Regions from separate parts of the Homo sapiens genome. Here region 1 is linked to region 2. Evidence: promoter capture Hi-C in 16 types of primary human blood cells and fetal thymus (Javierre and others, 2016). All regions are on one chromosome and are shown on one strand. The core of a region is centred on a gene start or on the middle of the fragment in contact, and the rest is flanking DNA. Distances in the headings are between cores, read along the strand shown.

Region 1 (5,550 bases), core at 412-2,911, 130 kb after region 2:
TCTTAGTGCTCACTCAGGGCTTCTCAATCCCAGCTGCACATAGAATATTGGAAAATATTCAGAAAGTACCACTCTTGGGCCCACCTCCAACCAATGGAATCAGAATCTCTGGGATGATGCCTGAGAATTGATACATCTGGAAAGCAGCACGAGCGATTCTGTTGTATGGCTAGAACTGAAAAACTGCCCGGCCAGCTGGCCTTTCTTTTACTCTCCTTTTGCCCCCCAATGCTTTGTAGTCTGACGTTGCTCAGAAATTTAACAGTAAAAAATCACAGCTCATAACTGGTGAGCCCTTCTGTGTGCCAGGGCCACACTGGTTACTGCAGATAGAGCAGTGAATGTGCCCCTGCCTTCACAGAAGCCACTCGCAGAGAAGACTAGCAGAGAAGGCAGGCTAGCAAACAAAGCATCAGAATAGAGTGTTCTGGGGGTGTCCAAGAGGAGCCCCCACTTCAGAGCCTGAGGGTTGGTAGGGATGAGGGGAGGCTTTCTGGAGGAAGTGGAGCCTAGGTGGAGGTCTGAGGACAGGTAGAACGGGTAGAGGTAAGCCTGGGGAAGGTGAGGTGGGAGGAGTGAGGAAGGCAGACGGAACAGCCTGTGCTAGCAAGAAGAGCCCCAAGCAAGAAGGAGCTCGATTCACGTTCAGATCTCAGATCGGCTGCAGTGTGGATGGAGGGATTCCCACAGGAGGGATTAGACCTGGGAAAGGGGACAGGGCTAGATCGCACAGAGGTCTGTATGCCAGTAAGGCAATTTTGATCCTAAAAATAAGAAGCCAGTGATGGATTTAGAAGATGGGAGAGTAGAGATGGACAAGAGTGGAGCTGTGTTTCCTCTGCGGCTAGGTGCAAAATGGATTGGAGAAGGGAAAGTGGAGGCAGGAGACCAGCCAGGAGGAGAGCTGTCTGGCCTGGGAGACGAGGGCCACCTGGCTCAGGTGGCAATGAAAGGGTGCAGACAAATTGAGGCGCTACAGAGGAAGTGGCTTTAACAGGGCTTAGTGACTCACAGGAGAAGGGACAGGCAGGAGTGCCCAGTATTATGGGCTGAACTGTACACCCCCAGAATTCACTTTTTGAAGCCCTAACCCCCAGTGCCCCAAATGTGATGGTATTTGGATATATTAGTTTGGTGCAAAAGTAATTGCGGATCTTGCCATTACTTTCAATTACTTTTGCACCATAATAGAAGCTTTGAAGAGGTGATTAAATTAAAACAAGGCTGTTACAGTGGACCTTAATCCAATCTGACTAGTGTCTTTATAAGAAGAGGAATTATTATTTTTTTTTTTTGAGATGTAGTTTCCCTCTTGTTGCCCAGGCTGGAGTGCAGTGGTACAATCTCAGCTCACTGCAACCTCTGCCTCCTAGTCCAAGCGAGTTTCCTGCCTCAGCTAGGATTACAGCCGCCCACCACCATACTCGGCTAATTTTTGTATTTTTAGTAGAGACGGGGTTTCACCATGTCAGCCAGGCTGGTCTCCAACTCCTGACCTCAGGTGATCCACCTGCCTCGGCCTCCCAAAGTGTGGAATTACAGGTGTGAGCCACCATGCCCAGCTGAAGAGGAAATTTGGACACACAGAGAGACATCAGGGGTGCACATGCACAGAGGAAAGGCCATGTGAGGATGTGAGGACACAGCCAGACATTTGCAAGCCAAGAAGAGAGGCCTCAGGAGAAAGCAACCCTACCAACACATTGATCTTGGACTTCCAGCCTCCAGAACAGTGAGAAATACATTTCTGTTGTTTAGACCACCAGTCTGTGGTGTTTGTTACAGCAGCCCTAGCTGACTGATACACCCAGGATGAAGCTGAGGTTTCTAGTTTGCACAGCCAGGTGTGTGGGTACCATGTATTGAAGGGGGAGTGATATAGTTTGGATCTGTGTCCCTGCCCAAATCTCATGTTGAATTGTAATACCCAGTATTGGAGGGAGTGATGGGATCATGGGGGTGAATTTCTCATGAATGGTTTAGCACCATCCCCTTGGTGCCGCCTTCATGGTAGTGAGTGTGTTCTCAGGAGATCTGGTCCCTTAAAATTGTGTAGCACCTCCCCGCCCCCCGACTCCTACTTGTGCCACATGATGTGCAAGCTCCTGCTTTGCCTTCCACCATGATTGGAAGCTTCCTGAGGCCTCCCCAGAAGCAGATGCCAGTGTTATGCTTCCTGTACAGCCTACAGAACCATGAGCCAATTAAACCTCTTTTCTTTGTAAATTATCCAGTCTCAGGTATTTCTTTATAGCAATGCGAGAATGGCCTAATACAGGGCAGATGAGAGGTTGAGTTTGAAACCTGTTGTGTTAGAGGGGCTCAGTCACCAGTTGCACTGGCCACAGCTGCTCCTCTCCTGATGGCACAGAAAGGCAGCCACGTAGGTAGGGGATGGGAACGGGAGGTCTGGAGACCACGCTCTAGGTTTACCTGCACACTGTGTGGCATCGGAAAAGCCCTGCACCTGCTCGGGGGCCCTCCTGTAGCAGGACCGATTGGTCTTCCAGGTCCCAACAGGCCGGGCCTCCGAGGCCTATTCCCAGCAAGGTGCTCCTGGAACGACTTCAGCACCTCTCCAGGGAAGGTGCTGTTGTTCTTGGTTCTCCCATCCAGGATGTTAACCAGGAAGGGGGCCAGTGCCCCAGGAGGCCATGAAGTGCAAACAACTCTGAGTTGGCAGCAGTGCCCTGTTCCGCCCGCAGAGCCTCCCTGCAGGAAGTTGGCTCCAATAGGTCCCCAGACACCCTCACCTCAGACCCAGGAGGCCCAGAGAGGAGCTCCCGGTGCCAGGGCTCAGAGAGAGCTGGCCCTACCAAGGCCTGTGCCTGCTCCTTCAAACACTTGGGCTTTCCCTCCTCGTCTCACACTCCAACATGCCCGACAGATAGGACTGATAGATTCAGGGGGAAAAAACAAACAAACAAACAGGATGCCCAGTTAAATTTGAATTTCAGATAAACACCAAATAGTTTTTAATATAAGTATTTTCCTTGTAATATTTGGGACATGCTTATTCTAAAAAAGTATTTGGTGTTTATCTGAAATTCAAATTTAACAAGGGTGTCCTATATTTTATCTGGCATTCCTACCCAGAAAAGACCCCAGGAGTCATCCAGTGATCCCCAAAGAGGAATGGGGTGGTTCCTCTGCCCCCCAACTCAACCCACTTGCTTCAGCCAGAGGCTGATGACAACTTGTCATTTCCCAAATCCTTGTCAAGCTGCTCACCAGATGTTAGGGCTGGCTTTGGTGCCAAGGTATCTTTGGAAAGGTGTTGTGTCTAATTAACCTAATAAGTAGGTTGTAAGCTCTGACCGGAAGTGGTGGAGGATTCACCCTGACAGATGGGGAGGAGTGGGTCATGCCTGTTGCAGGCACCTGCCCACAAGCTGCCGGCTGTGGCCTGCGGAAGGGCTAATGGGAGGCTTCAGCTTCACATGAGACACAGGGCAAGCAGAAGTTACACAACATCATATTACCAGTGACAATAGCTGCCATTTATAGAGCCCTTACTATGCCAAGCATGGATCAAGCATTATCTCATTTAATCCTTACAACAATTCTAGCAGGCAGAAGCTGTTATTATCCCCATTTAATAGATGATCAAACTGAGGCCAAGAGGCTGAGTAACTTGCCCAAGTTCACATAGCTAGAAAGGGATAGAGACAGGAATTAAAACCCAGTACTTCAGACTCTGGACTCTGTGCTTCTAGCCACTGTCCCCTCCGTCCTTTCCCCCAACCCCAAATCGTTTTCAAGACATTTGGTGAATGACATATACAGTACACGGAGAGATACAAGGAAATACCATTTATGATTCCATCAATGTTGATCAAGCATTTTCTGTATGTGAGACATTCTCCCTTTCCTCTGACCTCACGGACATCATAGTCTGGTAGGAGACACAGATATCAATAAATTATTGTATGAGAAACAGAACAAAAACAGTTCAATGAAATATAATTGCTATTAAGGAAATATAATTGCTATTAAGGATACTGCTGTTAGGGAAGGCAATAGACTTGGTGATCAAGAGCCTGGGCCCTAGGGCCAGGCTGCTTGGACACAGTCTCCCTTTACTAGGTATGTGACTTTGGCTGGATTTCTTAGTTTATTTCTGCCTCAGTCTGCAAAATGGGTGCAATATTACTCACCTCACAATGTTGTAACAATTAATTAAACCGATCCTTGAAAGGCACTTAGATAGTATCTAACAGTAATTACTTTAGTCAACAAATACTTACTGAGAACCTGCAATATGCCAAGCACTGCTCTAGGTTATTGGGATCCATTGGCAAACAAAATGGAAAAAATATCTACCCTTGTAGGGTTTATATTGTTGCTTACATTCTAGTGATAGCCATTATTGTTATTATTATTATTATTATACATTTTCACTGCTCCTTGTGGAGCAGGGCTACCCTATAAGCAGTGAGCCCAGAGTAACCAAGCCATTATTTTAAAATGAATTCTTATTATGTAAATAATGTTAGTTCATATTTTAAAATTATTATTAATTTTTTTATTTATTCTTTTTTTTAGAAACAGGGTCTCACTCTGTTACCCAGGCTGTAGTGCAGTGGCGCAGTCATAGCTCACTGCAACCTTGAACTTCTGGGCTCACATGATCCTCCTGCCTCAACCTCCCAAGTAGCTGGAACTACAGGCATGTGACACCATGCCTAGCTAGTTTATTTTATTTATTTATTTTTTTGTAGAGATGGGATCTTGCCATGTTGCCCAGGCTGGTAAAATTGTTATTTTTAAGTGATTTGTTATTATTTAATAATTTTTTCTTGGCCTTAAGAGGGCACAAAACAGGAAGATATTTCACCCTCTGGGTTGGCACAAGAATATTTCCTATGGTTTTAAATTCCCACTGGGTTTGGGGATGGGAGTTGATACTACTGATAGCTGACCAGCTTTGAGGCAGAATGGGTTAAAAACTTGGGAGTGGGCCGGGCACAGTGGCTCACGCCTATGATCCCAGCACTTTGGGAGGCCGAGGTGGGTGGATTACCTGAGGTCAGGAGTTCGAGACCAGCTTGGCCAACATGGGGAAACCCTATCTCTACTAAAAACACAAAAATTAGCCGGGTGTGATGGCATGCACCTGTAGTCCCAGCTACTTGGGAGGGAGGCTGAGGAAAGAGAGTTGCTTGAACTCGGGAGGTGGAGGTTGCGGTGAGCTGAGATTGTGCCATGGCATTCCAGGTTGGGCAACAGAGTGAGTCTCCGTCCCCCCACAAAAAAAATTGGGAGTGGACCGAGGAACCATAGGAAGGAGTGTAGGGGGTCTGCCAGGCTGGGGCTGAGAGGATGGTGCCTGTCTTTTTCTGAGAATCCTTTGTGAAAGTCTGATTCCAAGAGAAAGCCTGGCCCTGGGCAGGTGGCTAAAGTTCACAAAGGCTAACATGGAGAGTGAACCTGGCACTGGGGCAGGGAGGGAGGCGGTCAGCGGCGGCTTCTGACAGCCCTGACTAACTGCCAAAAACAGGGTTTCAGCTGCGAACCAATGACACCCCAGAGCCCCAAAGACTTCTAGGA
Region 2 (5,354 bases), core at 1,197-3,696:
CAGAATCCCAAATCCGGACCCTATTTCCGTTAAGTTTGTTTGCAGTTCTGATATCCCTAAAATAGTAATAGTTTTAACGGGCAGTGGGATAATAAAGGGAGGGAATGAATTTTTAGACAGGATACAGATTTGAGTTTAGTACTCAGTCGGTAAAGCAATCTCTAATCAAAACACCCTTGAAACTTTTTAAAAATCAGGTTCAGAATTTAAAGGAAGCTCTTAAAAGTCATATATATTTGCAAATTATATATGGCATTTTTCTGAATCAGTCTGGTGTCCTGAAACACAAAAGGTATTTACTATGATGGCTCTATGTTTGTCTTGAAATCCCAGTGCAGGTTTTCAAAAAAAGGTTTCATTATCTACTAAACTCTACCATGACAAAGATCTCCTTTTCACCACATAGTTCAATTTCCACAAGTGTCAACAACTTTACTGTAAAACCTAGCCTTAAGTCTGAACATCTATGTAACAATTATACAAAGCACTTGTCTCTCTTTAGGCATTTTTGTGGTGTGTTTTCAATACAAAATGTAATCCACTAGCTTTGGGGAAAAAAAAAAGGCACGCATTTTCAAAGAATCTTGTGGTATTAAAAAGAATCTTAAGGTTCTATTTTTCTCCTTCAATCTTTGTTACTTTTTGAACTAAATTTCATTTGCCAGGTCTTAAAAACTAAAAGCGTTTTTCATTGTGAAGTTACATGTACCTCTCGTCTTGAAAATCTGACAGACTTGGAAATTTCTATCAACTTTAGTTTTTAAAAATTATGTAAGCACACAAGATTTATATAACAAAGAACAATATTTCACTCTGATGTACAGAAACCTGAGAACTGGGGAAGCAACCCTACTTCTACAAGCAATGGTACCTACAGAATTTACATATATACATAGGGTGGGGTGTAACCCCTCAAAAGGCGCTTTGGGTACTTAGGGATTCAAGCAATAATTTGAAAAACAGAGAAAAAGTACAATTGTCTACCCATACTTACTTGTAAATCTTTCTTCAATTTTAGCAAATCTTCATTTTCTCCATTTCCAGATAATGCAGCTTCAACTTGCTGGAGCTGAGCTTTGTAGCTTGCCAGCTGCTTTGCTAAATCCTCTGACATCTAGGGAAAATAAAAAGGGTTAGACCATGAAAACTAAACCAAAAATCAAGGCATAAAAAACTAACTCCCCTGTCTGCCTGAATTACCAGTTTTTGCCTCTAACTCCTTCTAACACTGCAGCTTAATTTACCACCATTACCTTTACTCTCAGTTTAGACTTCAGCTAAACCACAAACTTAAAGGCAACAGATTCTGAGGATTATAAACTTGAGATACATTCCATACTTTAAAAAAGCATACAGATACAAAGAAATTTCTAATTTTCTTTTAACTCCTATCCACAGGGTAGGTGCTGAATTCGGCTCAATAATCAGTGTTATCTTTTTAAAAAGCACTACTCTGTTGGAAAAGTCGAAACTTTCAAAAACAATCCAAATACTTATTTTTAAGCACTACAGTATGCTTCCAAAGCCAAACAAGTGCGTTTTTAAATTAACTACACAAACTACGATCTTTACTTGAACTATTCAATTAAGAGTGTATTTAAAAGTGCCTCTCCAAAACAAAAATCTTTCGCCCAGTCGCTTAAATATTTATCGGTGCATTATCTTCAGCAAAAAGAACAGCACAGGTACTCTCCCATTTAGGCATTCTAACGAATGTGCCTTTCGCCAAATCCAGCTCAGTCATTTTCCTGAAAATAAGATACCAATTAACCTTTTTTGATGGTTTATAAGCAAATGTACCACGTTTCCGAGGACCCTTCTCCTTCGTAAAATTCCCGTCCAACCAAAGGCTGGGAGCCTGCAAAGGCCCCCTAAGAGTTACAGCGACCCAGGCTGCTCTCCTCCCCGCCACGCAGCACCTCAAAGCCCGCCACAACTCGATCATTCGGACGTGGAAATCCACACGCCAGCTCCAAGACCACCGCCGGAGCCCCGCCGCGCTCCAACAGGCAGGCTCCACAGGGAGCCGCGCGGCGCCCAGCCCCACCCGACCCGGTCCCCTGCGGGCCGTGTTTGCCGCCGCCGCACGGAGGCCAGCGCCGGCCGGGCCGCCGAGGCTCAGCTCTGGCTGAGAGACGGCCGTGGCTCCGGGATCCAGGGCCAGCGCCTGGGCGTCTCCGGCGAGGCGGGCTCCTCAGCCTTGGGCCTCCGCTTCACCTCGGGAGGGACCCGGGCCCGGCCAGGCCTTACTCTCTCCCTCAGGGGGGTTGTTACCTTGTGTGGGGCTGGGGGCGGGGCGGCGGGAAGGGGTCGGGGCAAATGAGCCCAGTGGTAGTGGCGGTGGCAGCAGCAGCAGTAGCAGTAGCAGGAAAATCACCGCGACGACAGCAAGGCGACCCGGTCTGAAAAGGAAGAACTCGGTCGGCGGCGAGGGGGAAGGGAGGAACGCCGGGCACTGGAAGGAGGAAAAGACAGAGACGGTGAAGTCTCGCGAGAAATACAAACTCTCGCGCGAGGTCGCTCGACTCACGTGACTCCGCGCGCCCTCTAGCCAGTCCCTGGCTGTCAGGGACACGAAGTAGGCGGGGCCTAGGAAGGAAATGGCGTAGCTGGGCTTCGCCAGGCGCGGAATGCAGGTTATCTTCCTGGAGTTCCGGCTTGGAATTTATTGGAAATGCAAATTCTCAAGCCCCACCCCAGACCTCCTGAATCCAGAGACTCTTGTTTTAATAAGCTCACCAGATGATACCAATGTCCGCTGACGTTTGAGAACCACTGCTTTTCCGGGGCGGTGGTGGTGGGTGGCGGGGGGTGTTGGTGGGGGCTCTCTTTACGTTGCCCTGGCTGGTCTCCAGCTCCTGGGCTCAAGCTATCCTCCTGCATCGGCATCCCAAAATGCTAGGATTACAGGCGTGAGCCACCGCGCCCAGCCTGAGAACCACTACTTTATATGATACAAGCCTTAGTAGTAACAGAAAGCTAATTAAATCGTGACAGAAATAACCTATTGGAGAGAAGATTGATTTCTTTAAAATCTGTTTTGTTAAAACCTACTTGGTTTTAATTTAGTTGGGTTAATCTCGCCTGATAGGGAACAACGTCCAAGTTAGTCTAGAATGGTAAAGAGTGGTAGGAATACTCACATTTGTGTTCAAAAAGAAATGCCCCTTGTGTATGTTTGTAATAATATATACGCTTTCTGGACGGATACACAAAACTGTTCAGAGGTTTGGAGTGGAAGCCAAATGTTTTATTGATTACCCTCTTTGCTGTTTACCCTTTTTCCTTTTCTTTTTTTTTTAAACCATATATATATAATTTATTTCAATTAAAAAAGCAATAAAGGCCTGAGACACAAAGTTTTATATAGATGACAGGAAGCAACCTTTCCTGGGAGGTTGGGAGTTTGTTGCTGGATCCATAAAAAGGCCCACTTCTCGCGGATCACCTGAGGTCAGGAGTTCGAGACCAGCTCGACCACGTGGAGAAACCCCGTCTCTACTAAAAATACAAAAAAAAAAAACCAACAACAACAACAACAACAAAAAGCCGAGCATGTTGGTGCATTCCTGTAATCCCAGCTGCTCGGGTGGCTGAGGCAGGAGAATCGCTTGAACCTGGAGGCGGCGGTTGCGGTGAGCCGAGATCGTGCCATTGCACTCCAGCCTGGGCAGCAAGAGTGAAACTCCGTCTCAAAAAAAAAAAAAAAGGCCCACTTCTCAGATGGGCTCTTTTGAACTGTGCCAACATCTTTAGTTCCTAGTTTTCTTTTCAAGGAGCCTTCCCTTTTGTTCTCTACACACACACACATAACCCTTGCAGTGAGTCAGATAACCTGTATAGATGGAAACTAGGTCGGGTTTGTGAGTGTGAAAGATTGAAATTGCAGCAGAGGGCAGCAGTGTGTAGCTAGAATTAAGAAGGCAGACAAAACAGAAAGCATGTGCTTTTAAATAAATATTCGTTTAAAATAAAATGTAGTTTTAGAGAACTTCTGTTATTGTAATTGTGTGTTTTAAGAACCGATGCGAGGAGGAACTTCCTTGAATATAAAGTCAACCTTATTGTGTAAAAATCTCTTAAATGAGAACTTTTCCTGAACCCCATAGATCAGAAAATAGGCAAATATTCATTATAAGTTCCATCATAGATTTCTATACCATCTTAATAATTTTTTCAGGATTGTTTTTAGGATTGTTTTTATCTATGCAACATTCATTTATAAAGAAAAGCTATATTGAATTTTAATTTTCACAAAGAAATAACAGTTTGTATGTGCCAGATACCATTCTAAGCACTTTACACAGGTTCATTTAATTTTCACAATTGTATGCGGTGTTGCTCCAGACAAAACTGGAGCAGACAAAACTAAGAGCAATACTTCAAATAGGCTTTCTGAATTACTATTTCCTTTGAAGTGTCAAAATTTACTTTCAGTGTCTGATTTTTCTTAAAACATTTGCATTCAAACTTAATCATGTTTATTTAAAAAAAAGTATCTTAAACCTTTAGTTTTGAAACGTGATATTTATTTTATTGAAAGACAGTAAATAAATAAAATGTAAAGGCTCCAAATTGTCATCAGAATATACAGCTATTTCCTTTCTACTAAAGAAAATTAAAGTATGGCATGATGGCACCCAGCTACTTGGAAGGCTGAGAAGGGCATCCAGAAGTTTGAGGCTGCAGCACACACTGACTGTGCCTGTGAATAGCCGCTGCATTCCAGCTCGGGCAACATAGTGAGATCCTGTCACAAATTTTAAAAAATTAATTTTTTTTTAGATGGATTCTCCCTCTGTCACCCAGGTTGAAGTGTAGTGGTGCAGTCTCAGCTCACTGCAACCTCCACCTCCCTGGTTCAAGCAATTCCCTTGCCTCAGCCTCCCAAGTAGCTGGGATTACAGATGTGCGCCACCACGCCTGGCTAATTTTTTTGTATTTTTAGTAGAAATGGGGTTTCACCATGTTCGCCAGACTGGTCTCGAACTCCTGACCTCAGGCAGTCCGCCCGCCTCAGCCTCCCAAAGTGCTGAGATTACAGGCTTGAGCCACAGCGCCTGGCCTAAATTAAAAAAAAAAAAATTAAGTATAGCTCTTTGGAAATGTGCCAGCCCACTGTAAAGCAGAAGAATATGCAATAAAGTAATACATGTTGGTCAAATAGGTTTTTTTTTTTTTTTTTTTTTTTTGAGACTGGGTCTTACTCTGTTGCCCAGGCTGGAGTGTAGTGGTTTAATCTCAGCTCGCTGCAACCTCTGCCTCCCAGACTCAAGCAAACCTCCTGCCTCAGCCTCCCTAGTAGCTGGGACTACAGGCATACACCACCATGCCCGGCTAATTTTTGTATTATT

The links. Contacts are between HindIII fragments. The CHiCAGO score rates a contact against its expected background, and 5 or more counts as called.
Region 1: a contact is called between a fragment that was not itself captured here and the fragment with the promoter of SMNDC1 in region 2, in 1 of 17 cell types (activated CD4 T cells). The highest score is 5.5, in activated CD4 T cells.

What each region holds. Positions count from the first base shown.
Region 1 is chr10:110,431,313-110,436,862 of GRCh38, forward strand. LOC105378482 (a long non-coding RNA gene) reads right to left here. Exons shown (of 4, transcript NR_188210.1): 3 at 3,812-3,895. Among named protein-coding and RNA genes, the nearest start is that of DUSP5-DT, 62 kb to the right of the region's middle. RefSeq lists an enhancer at 1-277. The HindIII fragment of the contact is 939 bases long and covers 1,193-2,131 here.
Region 2 is chr10:110,302,474-110,307,827 of GRCh38, forward strand. It overlaps SMNDC1 (survival motor neuron domain containing 1), which reads right to left and starts at 2,447. Exons shown (of 6, transcript NM_005871.4): 1 at 2,275-2,447; 2 at 995-1,114. The coding sequence starts at 1,114. RefSeq lists a silencer at 1,959-2,278. The HindIII fragment of the contact is 6,895 bases long and covers 1-5,354 here.